Regions from separate parts of the Homo sapiens genome. Here region 2 is linked to region 1. Evidence: promoter capture Hi-C in 16 types of primary human blood cells and fetal thymus (Javierre and others, 2016). All regions are on one chromosome and are shown on one strand. The core of a region is centred on a gene start or on the middle of the fragment in contact, and the rest is flanking DNA. Distances in the headings are between cores, read along the strand shown.

The links. Contacts are between HindIII fragments. The CHiCAGO score rates a contact against its expected background, and 5 or more counts as called.
Region 2: the fragment with the promoter of RAB1B here is called in contact with the fragment with the promoter of TMEM179B in region 1 in 1 of 17 cell types (activated CD4 T cells); the score reaches 9.0 in activated CD4 T cells.

What each region holds. Positions count from the first base shown.
Region 1 is chr11:62,785,103-62,789,318 of GRCh38, forward strand. It overlaps TMEM179B (transmembrane protein 179B), which reads left to right and starts at 2,300. Exons shown (of 5, transcript NM_199337.3): 1 at 2,300-2,425; 2 at 3,921-4,108; 3 at 4,190-4,216. The coding sequence starts at 2,330. TAF6L (TATA-box binding protein associated factor 6 like) reads left to right here. Exons shown (of 11, transcript NM_006473.4): 10 at 1,158-1,286; 11 at 1,415-2,240. The coding sequence ends at 2,194. It also overlaps a transcript of TMEM223 not described here. RefSeq lists an enhancer at 1,371-1,570 and a silencer at 1,821-1,930. The HindIII fragment of the contact is 7,473 bases long and covers 1-4,216 here.
Region 2 is chr11:66,266,854-66,271,069 of GRCh38, forward strand. It overlaps RAB1B (RAB1B, member RAS oncogene family), which reads left to right and starts at 1,786. Exons shown (of 6, transcript NM_030981.3): 1 at 1,786-1,840. The coding sequence starts at 1,827. KLC2 (kinesin light chain 2) reads left to right here. Exons shown (of 16, transcript NM_001318734.2): 16 at 20-1,007. The coding sequence ends at 103. It overlaps KLC2-AS2 (KLC2 antisense RNA 2), which reads right to left and starts at 1,558. Exons shown (of 3, transcript NR_186342.1): 1 at 1,446-1,558; 2 at 1,202-1,355; 3 at 696-978. RefSeq lists enhancers at 1-238, 995-1,044, 1,345-1,394, 1,515-1,844, 2,005-2,886 and silencers at 495-544, 565-884. The HindIII fragment of the contact is 6,329 bases long and covers 1-4,216 here.

The DNA of each region.
Region 1 (4,216 bases), core at 1,050-3,549:
GCTGGGATTACAAGCGTGAGGCACTGCACCTCGCCTATCTTTTTCTTGAGTGTCTGTAGACTTTTGTAAATTCTGGCATGGTATTTTCTTTCCTTTTTTTTTTTTTCGAGACAGAGTCTCACACTGTCACCCAGGCTGGAGTGCAATGGCGCGACCTCGGCTCACTGCAACCTCTGCCTCCTGGGTTCAAGCGATTCTCCTGCTTCAGCCTCCCGAGTAGCTGGGATTACAGGCGCTCACCACCATACCTGGCTAATTTTTTGTATTTTTAGTAGAGACGGGGTTTCACTGTGCTGGCCAGGGCTCGTCTCGAACTCCTGACCTCCTGATCCGCCTGCCTTGGCCTCCCAAAGTGCTGGGATTACAGGCGTGAGCCACAGCGCCCGGCTGGTATTTTCCTTATAGGCCCAGCTGGTATTTTCCTTATAGTTAATTCTTTTTTTTTTTTTTGAGACGGAGTCTCACTTTGCTTCCCAGGGTGGAGTGCGGTGGTGTGATCTCGGCTCACTGCAACCTCTGCCCCCCGAGTTCAAGTGATTCTCCTGCCTCAGCCTCCCAAGTAGTTGAGATTACAGGCAACTGCTACTGCGCCCAGCTAATTTTTGTATTTTTAGTAGAGATGGGGTTTCACCATCTTGGCCAAGCTGGTCTTGAACTCCTGACCTCAGGTGATCCACTGGCCTCGGCCTCCCAAAGTGCTGGGATTACAGGCGTGAGCCACAGCGCCTGTCCAATCACAGGATTTTAAATTGTATAATCAGAGTCCAAGTCTCTGGTTGGTTGTTTTTATGCAGATTGTTTGAACTGAGTCTCAGTTTACATCTAAGTGAAGCCAGTACTTGCCTGATTGTATAGGGTAGCAGTATGCAAACTAAATTTTGGAGTTGTCAGTAATGAGCATTATTTAGCACACAGGGCAGTGATATTGGGTATATTTTTTATTGTCTCCCTTTGTACCTTATCTTTATTCCCAATGCCTAGCTTAGGTATACAGTAGGTTCCAAATAAATATATGGTTGAATATGCCAATCAGGGAATTTAGGAGGATTGAGCCCTGTCTAGGATCAGAGATAAAGGTAGGTCTTTCATGGGAAAGGGTCCTTGAGAGGGAATAAGTATCAAAGACATGCTAACTGTATTCCTTCTCTTCCTTCCAGGCAGTAGAACGAGTCCTGTACCCACACCTGTCCACCTACTGGACAAACTTGCAGGCTGTGCTGGATGATTATTCAGTATCTAATGCCCAGGTCAAAGCAGATGGACACAAAGTCTATGGAGCCATTCTGGTGAGTACCGTCCCCTTCCAGCCTCCCTTCCCTGCATGAGCTTAGCAGCCAAGCAGGCTTACTTTGGAATATTTGATGGGCCCAGGTTCCTCGAATTTTTTGCCTATCTTAGTCCTTGGCTCTTACAGGTGGCGGTAGAGCGACTGCTGAAGATGAAGGCCCAGGCAGCAGAGCCCAACAGGGGTGGCCCAGGTGGCAGGGGGTGCCGGCGCCTGGACGACCTGCCATGGGACAGCCTTCTCTTTCAAGAGTCGTCCTCCGGGGGCGGTGCAGAACCCAGCTTTGGGTCCGGCCTCCCGCTGCCGCCAGGGGGCGCGGGGCCGGAGGACCCTTCTCTTTCGGTGACCCTGGCCGACATCTACCGGGAGCTCTACGCCTTCTTCGGTGACAGCTTGGCCACACGCTTTGGCACCGGCCAGCCTGCACCCACGGCTCCGCGGCCGCCCGGGGACAAGAAGGAGCCGGCGGCAGCCCCGGACTCGGTGCGGAAGATGCCGCAGCTGACGGCAAGCGCCATAGTCAGCCCGCACGGCGACGAGAGCCCCCGGGGCAGCGGCGGAGGCGGCCCCGCGTCGGCCTCTGGGCCCGCCGCCTCTGAGAGCAGGCCCTTGCCGCGCGTGCATCGGGCGCGCGGGGCACCCCGGCAGCAGGGCCCCGGGACCGGCACCCGCGACGTTTTCCAGAAGAGCCGTTTCGCCCCGCGCGGCGCCCCGCACTTTCGTTTCATCATAGCCGGGCGGCAGGCTGGGAGGCGCTGCCGCGGGCGCCTTTTCCAGACTGCCTTCCCCGCGCCGTACGGGCCTAGCCCGGCCTCGCGCTACGTGCAGAAACTGCCCATGATCGGCCGTACCAGCCGCCCCGCCCGCCGGTGGGCGCTCTCGGACTACTCGCTGTACTTGCCGCTCTGAGTCAGTGGCCCCTTCGTTCCTTGTAAATAAATCCCGCCCCCGGAAATGACGTCTCCACCTTCGTGGGTCGCGCCGGATAAGGTGGGCTTTGGGCGGGGTGCTGCTGCAGCGGCGCTTCCTGGTGGTCAGGGCGCCATGGCGCTGTCCTGGCTGCAGCGCGTCGAGCTTGCGCTCTTTGCTGCCGCCTTCCTGTGCGGGGCCGTGGCGGCCGCGGCGATGACTCGGACCCAGGTGCGGCTGCGGGGCGGGGTCAGGTAGGCGGGGGAGCTGGCCGGTCTGGACATGGCGAGGCCACTTTCGCTTTCCGACCGGGCTTGCTGCTGCTCGGAGCCGGTGGACCTGGTGAGGCACGGCTGGCGCCGGCCTGTACCTGAAATGCAGCGAGGCTAATCGCGCTTTGTGGCTCCTCCTGGCCAGGTCATACTTCGAAGTTGTCCCCTCGCCAAAGGGACGGGTCAGTAGCGTCTTAAAGCACTAGGTGGAGTCGGGTTTCGTGGCTCCTGCTGCACAGCCTTACTGTGGTTCCGAAACAGAAGTCAGTGCAGAACCTGCGTCCATCCGTTAAATCAGAAGCCATTTGTGCTGAGCTTTGTCGAGAAATAAAGCATAGTGTAGTGGAGATGATCAAGCTGCCACATGATTGTAGCACAGTGTGTTAAATGACAAAATGAGAGATGGAGAAAACGCTGACGTAAAGGTAGAAGCCAATAATTTACATCGTTTACCCCAGCCAGGTAATCTGGTTAATAAACATGGGTTCATTTAATGCCTATAAAGTAGGCACTAGTGTGCCTATTTTACACCATGAGAAAACCTCAGAGATCCGCCGGGCGCGGTGACTCACGCCTGTAATCCCAGCACTTTGGGAGGCTGAGGCAGGCGGATCACTTGAGGTCAGGAGTTCGAGACCAGCCTGGCCAACATGGCAAAACTCTGTCTCTACTAAAAATACAAAAATTAGCCGGGTGTGGTGGCTCATGCCTGTAATCCCAGCTACTTCGGAGGCTGAGGCAGGAGAATCGCTTGAACCTGGGAGGCGGAGGTTGCAGTGAGTCGAGATCGTGCCATTGCACTCCAGCCTGGGTGACGAGCGAATCTCCATCGCAAAAACAAAAACAAAAACACTGGCCGGGCCTGGTGGCTCACGCCTGTAATCCCAGCACTTTGGGAGGCCGTGGCAGGCGGATCACGAGGTCAGGAGATCAAGACCATCCTGGCCAACACGGTGAAACCCTGTCTCTACTAAAAATACAAACAATTAGCCAGGCATGGTGGCGGGTGCCTGTAGTCCCAGCTACTCAGGAGGCTGAGGCAGGAGAATGGCATGAACCCAGAAGGCAGAGCGTGCAGTGAGCCGAGATGGCGCCACTGCACTCCAGCAAAAAAAAAAAAAAAAAGCACCTCACAGATAGTTATTTGTTGAAGGATATACAAGGCCTGGGTTTACTCTAAGGTTTCTGCACAGAGACCATAACTTGTGAGGCTTCTCTGAAGCTCATTGCATTCTATATTCATTGCCTATTTTCTGATCCTTCTGGCCACTGCCGGTGTGATTCCCCAGCAGGCCCTCTCCATCAATATCCCTGTCCCAGAAATAGGAATTGACGGTGCACAAATAACTTCCTGGAATGCAGGACCATTCCTAAGTTATCACTAACACCCTACCAAGAGACTGTATCTAGAGACATTAACCTGAAATCTAGGACTCAGCAGCTTCTCTCCACAGGGCTCCTTCAGTGGTAGATGTCCCCTGTATGGTGTGGCCACCCTGAATGGCTCCTCCCTGGCCTTATCCCGTCCCTCAGCACCATCCCTGTGCTACTTTGTAGCTGGGGCCTCTGGCCTCTTGGCCCTCTACTGCCTCCTGCTTTTGCTCTTCTGGATCTACAGCAGCTGCATCGAGGACTCCCACAGGTGACTGCCTAACCCTGAGGGCCAGGGGCTGAGGTAGGATGAGCCTCACCTCCACCACAAGGCTTGTTCTCTCCCTTTCAGAGGTGCTATAGGGCTGCGCATTGCACT
Region 2 (4,216 bases), core at 536-3,035, 3.5 Mb after region 1:
CTGCCCCCTCTGCCCACAGCCTGGAGGCACAGGTCTCTCTGACAGCCGCACTCTCAGCTCCAGCTCCATGGACCTCTCCCGACGAAGCTCCCTGGTGGGCTAATGCTGAAGGGGCAGCCAGTCACCAGAGCGCCCACCTGGCACACCCCCCTCACCCCAGCCCTGCGCATGGGCCTGCTGCTTGTCCCGCCTGTCTCTCCCACAGCCCCTGTCTTTTCTGTTCAATCTCAGGGTAACCTTCTCCCTTGTCATCTCAGCCTGAGCCCTGGAGGCTGGGCCTGCCCACTCCAGCTCCATCCCTTATTTATTCCTTCCAGCAGGGCCCTCTTCCCTAGGTTCGGGCCAGCAGGAGGTGCCGGCTGGAGTCTCCACCATAGACTCAGTGGCCTGGCCTCCCCAGACCCCAGAGCCAAGAACACTAAGCACTCGCCGGCCCTTCGGCACCCTCGCCCTCCCTCCCGACTCAACCCGGCCGTTGCTTCTGTATATAGAGAAATAAGTTATTGGCCGCGCGCCTCCCTTCAGTCCACGGTACTACCCGGGCCTCCCCTCGTCCCTCTTCTAGTGGTACCGCCCAGGCCTTAATCACCCCCATTCCGTGCGGTGGTATCTCCCAGGCTCTACATTCTCGGGAGCGGCGCCTCCCAAGGGGGTCCTGGGACCTTCTCGCGCTCCTCCTGGCCTCTGAGGGATGCGTCCTACCCGCGCCATCGCCCCGTGGCCCAGGACGGGGACCTCCCCTTAGTCCGTCCTCCCACCGCCGGGCCCTGCCCCGCATCCCGGCCTTATGCACTGCCCCTCCCACCCGGCCCCGCCCAGGCACGGCCGACCCCGCCCCGGGCACCGCCCACCGAGCCATCCTGCCTCGCCTCCCCCCACGCCTGCAGCTTCTCGCGAGGGGCGGCGACGGTCCCCTGGTGGCAGGAGGGGCTCCCCCTGTTGCGGGTGAGGCGGCTGCTCTCATATTTTCAGATGTTGCTGTAGAAATAAAGACGGTTTAAATCTGAGCTGGGCTTGTTTTGAGACGGAGGTCGGGGGCCCCCAGCGTCTCTAGACTGGGGTGGAGCCGGGAAGGGTCGTGCGTGAGTGGGGGACAGTGTGTCTCGCTCAACCGCTGTCCGCGCAGCTGGGCCCAGATATTGTGCCCCACCCCGGAATTGCGTGAGGGGCCCACAAGTCAGGCTTTCCCTAAAACACTCACTTGTGGGGTTCTGGAGACCGCGGGCTCTTATGAGCTCTGCTCCTCACAAAGTTTTTGACCTTGAGTGAGTTTCCCGAGACTCAGTTTTTTCATCTATGAAATGCGGGTGATGACGCGCGGCTGCGAGTTAGGACTGCCCAGTACACGAAGAACCCTGGACAAATGTACTTTTATTAGTCTTACTAGAACCCACATTCTCATTTAATGTTCACAACGTGGGTATTGGGAGGGCAAGGATGACTACCTCCGTCAGACAGATGTGAAACGTGCCAAGCCCAGCCCTAAATTGAGCTTTCTAAACACCGAGTCGCGGTCAGGCTTTCCAGCACTGTCCTCAAGCCTGAGTGCGTCCGGAGTGCAAACTACAAGCCCCAGAAGGCAATGCGCCAGCAGTGATGGGAGTGGGCGCGGAGGCGCGGGCTCCCCGACTACGCCTGCGCAGCGGGGCTGAGTTGGAGAACGTCTTAGACTACAAGTTCCGGGAATCAGCGCGGCGAGGCCTGAGAAGAAGACGTTTGCGCCTGCGCGTCGCGGGCGGGGCCTCTGGGGCGGAGCGGCCACCATCTTGGAACGGGAGGCGGAGCAGAGTCGACTGGGAGCGACCGAGCGGGCCGCCGCCGCCGCCATGAACCCCGAATAGTGAGTGAGCCCCGCCCGCGCCGTCCAGCGCAGCCTCGATCCCGAATACAGGGCTGTACGCTTACCGGGGTTGTCTGGCCCGGGTCAGGACTGTGCGGCGCCCCCACATCCGGGTCCCTCTTCCGCTGACCCCCCCCCACATCCGGGTTCTGCCCCTCCCCCCAGGGGCCCCAGGACCCCGGCTCAAAACCCCGAGCCCTCGCACCCGGGGCCCAGACGTGGCGACCCCCAGGGGCAGCTCTTGGAGCTCGAGACATCGGTCCTACCAGGCCTTATCGGTCAGATGACCCCGCAGTCCCGGTCACTTCAGGCCTCAGTTTCCCCACCTGCTGCTTGACAACTGTCCCGGAGTTTTGGAGCCCGTCTTGATAGTTTCTGGTCTCGGGTTCAGGCTTGGGCCCTTTAGGTCGGGCAGTGAATCCCTCTACCCTTCTCTTTCTCCTGAAGCCCGGCTCCTGGGGCCGGCCCAGAAGCTAGCCAACTACGCGGGAGGCCCCGAAGCGCCGCTTGGGTCGCGTCTCCCGCAGGTCCTCTCTTCCGGGGCTGCCTCCTACCCTTTGCCTGGGTCGCGCTGTCCTGTCGCTCCCGCCGGTCCGTCCTTTCCCGCCCTCTCCTCGCTTTTGCTCAGGCCCCCAACGCCACCGTCACACCCCTTCCCTTGGCTGTCACACTGCCTGTGAAGTTTAGATGAATATGGAATTTGCTCTCCCCCTTCCTGTGGGATTCTCTGGTCCTCAAACTCTCCTCACTCTTGGTCACTCCCCCTGCGGGTAGGTGGCCCACATCTCATGCCCAGGACTAATAGTTTTCCCCAAGTATCAGTTATCTTCTTCCTTTTCTGCCACTTCCTTTTTCTACTCCACATCCAGGTCTCAGATTTCCTTGGGGAAGGGTGAAGCTCTGAGCTGGATTGGGAGGGGAACAGAGAAGGGAACCAGCAGGCTCTCGAAGGGACTTTGGAGTCTGAGAAACCTGGTTTGAGTCTTAAAGCGATAAACTGTGTAAGTTAGGGCAAGTCACTTCCCTTCTCTGGCCTCTGGTTTCCTCATTAGTTGACAATGACAAAACTGACTTCATTGAACTGTTGTGAAGATTAAATGAGATGATGCATTTAAAGTACTTCACACAGGGTCCGTCCACAGGTTGGAACTCAAGTATATTAAATGTGATTACCTTTTGCCTTTTTTTTTTTTTATTTTGAGACAGGGTCTCTCTCTGTCACCCAGGCTGGAGTGCAGTGGCGTGACGATGGCTCACTGCAGTCTCCAACTCTTGGGCTGAAGCAGTCCTCCTGCCTTGTCCTCCTGAGTAGCTGGGAATACAGAGGCACACCACCACACCTGGCACATTTTTTAATTTTTTGTAAAGACAGGGTCTCGATATGTTTCCCAGCCTGATCTCAAACTCCTGGGCTTAAATGATTCTCGTGCCTCGGGCTTCCAAAGTGTTGGGATTACAGGTGTCAGTCACTGCACCCAGCCTTAAGTGCAATTTTCACTGCAACTTGACCACCTCTTCCTGGTGACTTCATAACAGGTTTTTGTTGTTGTTGTTGTTGTTGTTGTTGTTGTTGTTGTTGTTGTTGTCTCCAAAGAGATGGGGTTAGCCGGGTGCGGTGGCTCAGGCCTGTAATCCCAGGACTTTGGGAGGCCGAGGTGGGTGGATCACGAGGTCAGGAGATCGAGACCATCCTGGCCAACATGGTGAAATCCCGTCTCTACTAAAAATACAAAAATTAGCTAGTCATGGTGGCGCATGCCTGTAATCCCAGCCACTCTGGAGGGTGAGACAGGAGAATCACTTGAACCAGGGAGTCGGACGTTGCAGTGAGCCGAGATCGTGCCACTGCACTCCAGCCTGGTGAGAGAGCGAGACTCTGTCTCGAAAAAACAAAAGAAAAGAGAGACGGGGTTGTGCTGCATCACCCAGGCTGGTCATACACTCCTAGGCTCCAAGGATCCTCCTCCTGTTTCAGCCTCCCCAGTAGCTGGAACCACAGGCACACGCCACAGCACCCAGCCATCAGTCTCTCTACGTGGGTTTTCAACTTAATAGGTTCTAGGCTGGGCCCTGGCTTCTACTTCTGGGGCCTTCTCTGCCAAGCTAGGCACACGCAGGGCATGTACTGGGGATTCCCTAAATAGCTCCTACTGGACCAAACCATGAAGTTTCAGAAATCAGGTTAGGATACCCAGCTCTGTTGCCTTGGCAGGTCACGTGTCTTGATTTCTTTCTCCATAAAGTGAGAATTTAGACTCAGCAAGCTGAGAGCCCTTTGGGCTAGCTGTTTGTGGAGGGAGGCATCAGCCCTCCCTGACCGGGACTGTTGGGAAGATCTGGTGAGCACCATAGTATTCTAAACCAAGGGATGGCCAG